3 separate regions of the Homo sapiens genome follow, and all the other regions are linked to region 1. The links are contacts of gene promoters, found by promoter capture Hi-C in human tissues and cell types (Jung and others, 2019). All regions are on one chromosome and are shown on one strand. The core of a region is centred on a gene start or on the middle of the fragment in contact, and the rest is flanking DNA. Distances in the headings are between cores, read along the strand shown.

What was found. Contacts are between HindIII fragments. The study calls those that stand out against the background at their distance.
Region 2: a contact is called between a fragment that was not itself captured here and the fragment with the promoter of IGFBPL1 in region 1, in 2 of the 25 tissues and cell types used here (dorsolateral prefrontal cortex and hippocampus).
Region 3: a fragment that was not itself captured here is called in contact with the fragment with the promoter of IGFBPL1 in region 1 in 1 of the 25 tissues and cell types used here (dorsolateral prefrontal cortex).

The regions. Positions count from the first base shown.
Region 1 is chr9:38,422,914-38,426,124 of GRCh38, reverse strand. It overlaps IGFBPL1 (insulin like growth factor binding protein like 1), which reads left to right and starts at 1,671. Exons shown (of 5, transcript NM_001007563.3): 1 at 1,671-2,160. The coding sequence starts at 1,701. It overlaps LOC105376041 (a long non-coding RNA gene), which reads right to left and starts at 1,514. Exons shown (of 8, transcript XR_007061487.1): 1 at 1,375-1,514. RefSeq lists an enhancer at 1-626. The HindIII fragment of the contact is 5,843 bases long and covers 1-3,211 here.
Region 2 is chr9:37,829,014-37,832,224 of GRCh38, reverse strand. All of the region lies in intron 2 of DCAF10 (DDB1 and CUL4 associated factor 10), which reads right to left. Among named protein-coding and RNA genes, the nearest start is that of DCAF10, 30 kb to the right of the region's middle. The HindIII fragment of the contact is 6,117 bases long and covers 1-3,211 here.
Region 3 is chr9:37,882,363-37,885,573 of GRCh38, reverse strand. It overlaps a transcript of SLC25A51 not described here and the pseudogene PAICSP1. Among named protein-coding and RNA genes, the nearest start is that of SLC25A51, 20 kb to the left of the region's middle. The HindIII fragment of the contact is 3,987 bases long and covers 1-3,211 here.

The DNA of each region.
Region 1 (3,211 bases), core at 422-2,921:
TAGTGATCATTTTTTTAGGAGAGATTCCTGGAAGAGCACAGAGGGGTCAAGCGGTGAGAGCACTTTAAAAGGCCACTCCTGGTAAAGACAGCAGCCTCCAGGTTGAAAGTCACTGTTGATAGGTTCTGAGAGCTGCGCTGAGTGCATTACCAACATTGTTATATTTATTCCTTACCACCACCCCTTCATGGTGCCTAACCGCCCCTGCTCTGTGTGGCTGATTGTAAGGTAAGGCCTGGCGTGGACCAGGCAGATGGCCCTCCTCTGACCACCACATAAAGTGGCCTCAGAAGAGGCTCCTTTCTGGGGATAAGAAGACTGCAAACTGGGAAGGAACTGGGCTTGAAAAGCAAAATGAACCCCACCCAAGAACGGTGTAGCTGGTCTTCCCAGGCTGCAAGAGGCTTTCTCCATCTCCAGGAGTTCAGCAAAGAAAAAACAATAGAGCACAAGACACATGAGGGGTGGCCAGTAAAGGCAGGAAAAGTCTCCTATAAAACCTGCTCAGCGAGTCCCTCCCTCCATCCAGTGCATTTACCCAGCAACACATCAAATCCCAGCAGCCAAGACTCTCTTAGGTTTCTCGTCTGGGTGCCCTGCCAGAACTCAGGCAGGATGGTGTGCACAGAGCCTGGCCCAGAGAAGGCGCAACGGCGGCATGAATAACTGACTACAAGAAACTGCATCTTTCCAACATGCATTCCCCAGTAAGCCACAGGTACACTGACCCTTGTGCACCAAGACTTCATCAAAGCATTATTCGTATTAACCAAAGGATGGAAAATAAGTGGTTAAATAACTGCAACTAAACCCTGTGGAAAGGCCACTCTGTATGAACTCCAAAATATATCACCATATCTCATCACAACAAAGTCACTGTGGACGGAGATGTACCATGACTTTATGCAGCATTAAGAAACACACTCACAGAGCCAATGAACTATGCTCCCATTGATTGTATAAGAAACCCAGTTTCACAGATGACAAGAGGTGGGGAAACTGTGAAACACTGTAAGTGCAAAAACCAAGTGCAGACTAATGTGTATGGCACGCTACTCTGTGTGTGTGAGAGAGAAACAGAGTGTGTGTGTTTTAAAGGAAGGGGCTTTTTTAGGCACATGTACTTTTATAGGCATAGAGAAAATTTCTGAAAAGATATACAAAAACCCGATAGCAAGAGTGGCCTCTGGAAGCCGAGTTGGAGGATGGGGATACAAGGTGGTAGGGTAACCCTCTTTTCATCCTTAGATGTATATGTAAAATCTACATTTTAAACCATATATTCTCTTTATAAAATAAAACTTTGAAAACTACTGAATGCAAAATAAAATTAAATAAAATAGCGCATCCTTCTGGGAGGATTTACGGGCATACTATCTGGAGCCAGCCTTGGATCCGGAGACCGTACGGTTATCCAATCCTGACTCTGCCATAGCGACCTCGGGCAAGTTGTCGCCCCGACTGGGTCTCGGTTCCCTCAAGAGTCCAATCGGAGGTCGGAGAGCTGCTCTCGGGGCGACCCTCCAGCTCGGAGACCCGGGCCGCGGGCACCGCGCGGGTCCCGGGCTGGAGCAGCGGTCTGCGGGCGCCCCGCGGTGCAGGCCCGGCCAATCAGCGGCCGCGGGGCGGGAGCGGTGACTGCTCGGCGGGCGCGGAGCGGAGCGCGAAGCAGAGGCGCCGCCGCTGTCCCGGAGCAAGCCATGCCGCGCTTGTCTCTGCTCTTGCCGCTGCTGCTTCTGCTGCTGCTGCCGCTGCTGCCGCCGCTGTCCCCGAGCCTTGGGATCCGCGACGTGGGCGGCCGGCGCCCCAAGTGTGGTCCGTGCCGGCCAGAGGGCTGCCCGGCGCCTGCGCCCTGCCCGGCGCCCGGGATCTCGGCGCTCGACGAGTGCGGCTGCTGCGCCCGCTGCCTGGGAGCCGAGGGCGCGAGCTGCGGGGGCCGCGCCGGCGGGCGCTGTGGCCCCGGCCTGGTATGCGCGAGCCAGGCCGCTGGGGCAGCGCCCGAGGGCACCGGGCTCTGCGTGTGCGCGCAGCGCGGCACCGTCTGCGGCTCCGACGGTCGCTCGTACCCCAGCGTCTGCGCGCTGCGCCTGCGCGCTCGGCACACGCCCCGCGCGCACCCCGGTCACCTGCACAAGGCGCGCGACGGCCCTTGCGAGTTCGGTGAGTCAGGGTCGGGGATTGGGTGGGTAGAGAAGGAGGGATTCCAACCCTCTGGGGTGTGGAGCGAAGGATCCCCCTGCCCAGTGGTGGACGGCGCTGCCTGGCACTCAGTTTCCCCTTAGGGAGCAGTATTTCATATCTCTCCTCGTGCTCAGAGAGACTGGGGCGAGAATCCTTGGAGACGCCACTCACTGTGCTAGTCGAATTTTTGGTGAGCCTGCTACCCCTTTTGGTACTTAAGTACCTGCTGATGCAGTCACTTATTTGTAGGCATGGTATGTTTGCCCAGCAGGAGACTGGGAGTTAAGGAGGGGGATCCGAGTTCCCAGGTATCCAGCGCTAGGTGGATTGTTTGAATGGGGAGGAAGGGAAGTTGAGGTTGGGGGAGGAAGGGAAGTAGAGGATAGGGGAGGAAGGGAAGTTGAGGATGCAGGAGGAGGATGAGTTCCAGACTGGGGAATCAGTAGTCACCAGGCCACAGCACCAGAGCACCAGGGCCCCCGGTGTGGGAAGGGGCTGAGCTGGGATGCTGAGGGAGCTCCATCCAGGAGAAGTAAGACCTTTGGAGACGTAAGGTCTGAAAAGATTGTGGTGCTATTAGGGGCAGACTCAGGTTTCGTGCTTCTAAAACATATATAATTTGGAGAGTCCTGCCTTAAGTAAAGGAATAGAACTGCTAGGGACTTAGAAACTTATTATGAAATGCTAGGGACTTAGAAACTTAAGCTTCATTAACATCACAGTAAAATAATCTCTGAGTGCTATAGTTGCCCACCCTCTTTATGTACCTTTTGAAAACCAAACAAAAAGAAACCAAAACGTTAGCACTGCTTTACCGGCTTCCTAAGCATGAGTGTATTCCACCCACTAGGTTTTGAAGTGCCGCTGTGTACTTTGCCTGGAGTGGGCAGTGCTGAGTTTAGGGTGAGTGAGAAGGTGGCCAGTGAGTCCCAAGGAGCCTGGGTTTCGGCCTGGAGTTCAGGCTTCTGGGAAATAATTCTGGCCTGAGCCCAGAGACCAAGTCCAGACTTTAGTGCCTAAGTCAGTGTAA
Region 2 (3,211 bases), core at 326-2,825, 590 kb after region 1:
CGGCGTCCCAAGGTACTGGGATTACAGACATGAGCTACCATGCACAGCCTAAATGGGTACTAATTATTATTATTTTTTTTTAGATGGTTCAAGCGATTCTCCTGCCTCAGCCTCCTGAGTAGCTGGGATTACAGGCACCCGCCACCATGCCCGACTAAATAGGTACTAATTTTTTAAATGTAATATCACTAAGTAAATATTTTTATGATGACCTCCGGGCTTCTCCCTGCAACTTCATAACTGGGGGGACCTAGATCTTTTTTTTGTTTTGTTTTTTGAGACGGAGTCTCGCTCTGTCGCCCAGGCTGGAGTGCAGTGGCACAATCTCGGGTCACTACAGCCTCCGCCTCCCAGGTTCAAGCAATTCTCTGCCTCAGCCTCCCGAGTAGCTGGGATTACAGATGCCGGCCACCACGCCCAGCTAATGATTATTAAAGGAACTCTAAATCCACATACAGATCCCTCAGGAATGAGAAGTAAGCCTGTATAATGGGTGTAAGTATTTAAATTACAGACTTTTCCCACTACTTTCCCAAAATATGAAGTAATAGAAAATATTGTCCGTAACTACCAATGTTTTTTATTTTTTTATTTTACAAGATAATAAGCAAACTACAAAACTAAGAAATGAACTAGAAGACATTACCAAGTATGTACAAAATGACCGTCTAGATTCAAACCAGAAAATGCATGCCCCTGTCTCTGAACAGTACAGTGAGGTGATCTAATGGAACTGAGTATGAATTCCAGCTCCACCACTTACTATATCTAAGAACTTGGGCAAATCTCTTTATTTGAGTTATAGTTTTTTATTCCTTAAATAGCTACAATATCTGTCTCACAGAGGGATACTGTGAGGATTAAGTAATGTATAAAAAGTGCTTCACAGAAGGTTTGGCACATAGAAAGCATTAAAAAATGGAAGTTAGTATTATTAATAAATAAAGCACACTTGAGCTCATGCACCAAAGACTCTTCAGATCTTCACTCAAAACTTTCTTTTTTTTTGAGACAGAGTCTCGCTCTATCGCCCAGGCTGGAGTGCAGTGGCGCGATCTCGGCTCACTGCAACCTCTGCCTCCTGGGTTCAAGCGAGTCTCCTGCCTCCCGAGTAGCTGGGACTGCAGGCGTGTGCCACCACGCCCAGCTAATTTTTGTATTTTTAATAGAGACGGGGTTTCACCATGTTAGCCAGGTTGGTCTGGAACTCCTGACCTCAGGCAATCTGCCCACCTCAGCCTCCCAAAGTGCTGGGATTACAGGCATGAGCCACTGCGCCCAGCCAAAACTCTTAAGTTATGTATACTTCTAAACGAGCTTCAAAATCGATTTCTCTAATCAACAGATCAGAAGAAGCAGATTCAAATTTGTAGGCATGAGTTGCTATGGCAGGCATACTGGCAGCAGCAAATGAAGGCTAACATTGATAAATAATACATTCTAATAGCGGATTAGCCAAAGGTTGTTTTGAGTAAAGGCAAACAACTTGGCACAAGTCTTATCTTTCTAAGAAATTTTTAAATTATAACATATTAGCAACATAGAGAAAACTATGAAAAATATAACAAACATCTGTGATACCACTCAGCTTTATCAATTTTAACATTTTATCTTTCACATATTTTTGAACATTACAAACACAGTTGAAGTGCCTTGTATATCCCTCCCCAGTCCCTTCCCTTCTCTTCCTCCCCAGAGGGAACCACTATCCAAAAGTTGTTGTTATTCCCATGTAAATTTTTAATACCATGAATTCATATGTATGTAACCATAAACACTTTATAGTATTGTTTTGCGTTCAGTTTTTTCTCTGTAAATGTTTAATAAGAACCCACCATATGCTAGGCACAATTCTAGATGCTGGGATAGAGCACAGAACAAATACATGCCCTCACCAAGCTTATGTTTGTAATGTTTTCAAATTTTATGTAAATGGTATCACACTATATAAAGCTCATTCTACATTTTTTTCTTTTCTACCTCAACTTTAAATTTCTGAGATGTGTATCAGATGCTGATGCTTTTAGTTCATTTATCTTAACTGATGTATAGTATTTCATTGTATGAGTACACCAGAATTTATTTATCTATTAATATTTCCTCTTGATAGACATTCGTTTCCAACTTCTCTCTATTACAAACAATGCTATAATGAATCTTCTTCATATACCTCCGTGTCCACATATGCATTAATTTCTTTCTTCTTCTTCTTTATTCTTTAAGAGACAGGGTCTTGCTCTGTCACCCAGACTGGAATGCAGTGGTGCAATCATGGCTCCCTGCAGCCTCAAACTCCTGGGCTCAAGCATTCCTCCTAAGCTTTCTAAGTAGCTGGGACTATAGGCACGTGCAACTACACCTGGCTAATTTTTAAATTGTTTGTAGAGACGGAGTCTCACTGTGTTGCCCAGGCTAGTCTTGAACTCCTGCCCTCCAGTGATTGTCCCACCTCAGCCTCCCAAAATGCTGGGATTACAGGTATGAGCCACCATGCCCAGCCTGCATCAATTATTAAAAAAAAATTAATCTTCAGCTTTACCATATATTGCTCAACTGCTCTTCAAAATAATGTTATAAATTTATACTTCATCAGTAATATCTAAGAGTGCCTATTTCTCAACGTTTCGCTGCCGAGAGAAATAGCAAGTATTTTTCTGCCAATACTTGGTATTTACTGTTATTTTTATTTGTACTTCCATAATAAATGATAAGCTTGAACATCTTTCTGTAGTTATTCTTCATTGTAGTTTTTTGTTTTATTTTATTTTATTTATTAATTTTTTTGACATGGAGTCTTGCTCTTGTTGCCCAGGCTGGAATGCAATGGCACAATCTTGGCTCACCGCAACCTCCGCCTCCCGGGTTCAAGTGATTCTCCTGTCTCAGCCTCCCGAGTAGCTGGGATTACAGGCATGCACGACCATGCCCGGCTAATTTTTGTATTTTTAGTAGAGACGGGGTTTCTCCATGTTGGTCAGGCTGGTCTCGAACTCCCTACCTCAGGTGATCCACCCAAAAGTGCGGGAATTACAGGCATGAGCCACCGTGCCCGGCCTGTTCATTGTAGTTTATCTTAGGTGATTCTCTGCCTCTTTTGCTAAAGGGCTATTATCTTATATACTAATACTTTTCTGGTTATGTACATTGAAAATACCTTCTCCCACCAACTATAGCCTATCTTCTCACATTATTATGATGCGTTTGGTTACAA
Region 3 (3,211 bases), core at 281-2,780, 540 kb after region 1:
ACTAAAAATACAAAAAATTAGCCAGGCGTGGTGGCGGGCGCCTGTAGTCCTAGCTACTCGGGAGGCTGAGGCAGGAGAATCTCTTTCTTAATTGGCCAAATATAAGTTGGTGTCGTAACTCCAGGCCACAGTGAGTTATGGGCAAAGCTTTTTTCCTTAAGCATCAACAAAATAGGATAAAAGGTTCCAATAGGAAAATACAAGGTTTTTTTTTTTTTTTTTTTTTTTTTTATCATTACCTAAGAGCTTTAGGCTAATTGCCTGGTAAATAGCTGTCCATCTGATGGCCTTTGACAGGGAACCTAATCCCCAAGATAGGATTCTTTTTCTTAAACCAATCTTGAAATCGCCTGCATTGAAACATAAGTGGCTGTGACCGGCCAGAGGAGAAGGTCCTCAGGGGCCAGGGGCTCCTCAGGCTTCCTTTGTTACTCCATTGCTTGCTTCTCTGCCCTCAGGAGCAGCTGCAGAGGACAGTCTTCATTAAGCTCAAGCATATGACAAAGGGGCAGAACAGAAAAGAAAAACAGCTTATTAGGTATAGGCTTTTCATGATAAATTGCTTGTATTAGTTTTGAAACTAAGCACCTATTGGATAGGCATTATACTATTTCTATTTAGATATGGTAGATCAAGGAGCTATGAAAGTTCCTGTTTTGCTTTCTAGGTTTGAAAGTTTTCTGTTTGATTCTGACTGTGATCTTCAACCCTTCCAAAATGTCCTTGTGTTATAATTTCACTTATTTCATTGCCAAAAGATGAAGGGACTTGAATCTTGTTATAGTTGTTCCATCCTGTTAACAAGTTTTCATTTTGTGTGTGGATCAAATTCTGGTTAGCTTGGTTTCTTTGAATTACTGGTGCCATCTCAGCAAAGGCCTGTGGTTATTTTTCCCCTTGAGTGGGAGTTGGTCATATTCAAGCATCCTGTTCTCTTAAAACTCTCCTTTTAAAAAATAAACACTTCCATAACATTTTGTTTTGGAAGTCTATTAATGCAATCCCACTTTTTTCCCCCTAGTTTCTAAATGTTAAAGAGAGGGGAAAAAAGGCTCAGGATAGTTTTCACCTCACAGTGTTAGCTGTCTTTTATTTTACTCTTGGAAATAGAGACTCCATTAGGGTTTTGACATTTTGGGAACCCAGTTTTACCATTGTGTCAGTAAAACAATAAGATAGTTTGAGAGCATATGATCTAAATAAAGACATTTGAAGGGTTAGTTTGAATTCTAAAAGTAGGTAATAGCCAAATAGCATTCTCATCCCTTAACAGACAAAAACTTATTTGTCAAAAGAATTAGAAAAGGTGAAAATATTTTTTCCAGATGAAACTTGTGCCACTTCCAATTGACTAATGAAATACAAGAGACAGACTGAAAAAGTGGATTATGCATCTTAAAACCCTTTCTGTAAATATTATGTAGCTAAAGATTGATTTCCAGCATCTGACATGACAGTAGGTTTCTTGTTAACCAGTTTTTCTTCTTTCTGGATAATTGCATATGAATATTTATACATACTGACCAAAATAAAGGCCTCAACTTGGTAGTTTACTGAAAGTTCTTGGACAAATAGTCCATAAAAGCTGTTGACCTCTAAATGCACTATGGCTGGTTAAATACAGTGACCATCCTTCTTCCAGCTGTAAAGGATGAAGCGTATTAAGCATTAGCCAGGCAGTAATAAAGCTAAATAGCCATACAGCAGCTCTGACAATGTTGTGCTGGATATTGCAGTTTGCTTTCAAGGTGCAGATGTAAGGATTTAAAAAAATAATAATTTGGCACCAAATAAATATGAGTAGCATCCATTGGCCTATTAAATCGAGTCAGGATTTGAAGGGAATTGAGTTTGAGAAATGAATAAATAAAGGCACCTTGGTGCCTGACCCCCTCAATCATGCGTGTGACTTTGAGCACTCACAGGTGTGTGCAGCTACTCAGCCCAGGGCAGGTGGGTTAGCCTGGGGTTATACCTTGGCCCTGGGAATAGACACCATTGGGCCTTTGGTTTTGTTGGGCTTCCTTTTGTCTTTACACTCCACACAGGTGGTAGAAATCTGAGTTCTAAAGCACTTTTGTGAAATACAAGCTAAGTGAGAATTCTAAAGAAAATGCTTTGGTTTCTGCTGTCTCAAATAAGTGGCATTTAAAAACAATTATTAATAAATATTTTTAATGGTTTTAACTCAGTATTTTTTTTTATTTCTTTGTCACTCTTTACAGCTTTTGAAGACCAAACTGCAAATACATTACCAGGGATGGTTTTGTGTTGTCCTATAGACTTCTTAAATTTGACAAAAAATTTAGCAGAACTTGTAACCAACAGCTTTGTCTGAACTTGAAGTCAAAATGTGTTGTTAATAAGAGATTCTAACTATTGCTTTTACCTTCAGTGTGAACTAGTGTGGTAACAACTTTGAAAAGGCAGGCCGGGTGCGGTGGCTCACGCCTGTAATCCCAGCACTTTGGGAGGCCAAGGCGGGTGGATCACTTGAGGTCAGAAGTTTGAGACCAGCCTGGCCAACATGGCGAAACCCCATCTCTACTAAAAATACAAAAAACTAGCCGGGTATGGTGGCACATGCCTGTGATCCCGGCTACCCAGGAGGCTGAGGCAGGAGAATCGCTTGAACCTGGGAGGCGGAGGTTGCAGTGAGCCGAGATTGCGCCACTGCACTCCAGCCTGGGCAACAGAGTGAAACTCTGTCTCAAAAAAAAAAATTGAAAAGGCAAATGTGATTGAATATCTGAAAAGCTTTAAAAGTGGCCTTTCTGTTACGTCTGTGGCACAAATGGCTCATGAGCGCAGGACACTTATGGTCTTGTGTCCTATACTTCATGTGTGATGCCACCAGAAATGTTATGGATTCCGTATTGAACACACTGAGAGTGGTATGAGCCCTCAGGACTGCACCACAGAGTAAACACAACCTTGATATGGTGGCGAATATGTGTGTCTTTCTTGTTTCATTTGTGGTTGGGGACAAAATCGATGTATTTGTCTAAATAGTCGATATTCATCTTAACATGGTTGGTTGTGTAATCACCAGCTATATTGTGAACTGTGCAATAAAACAGAAGCGTTTGTGTATATAATTACCTTTGGATACCTGAAATTCCCAAGCTTGGTTACAATGTAATGCTCAGTATAAGGCTGTGCAAACATGTAAGGGAATAATGGTGGTCGATGGGATATATGAAATGGGATC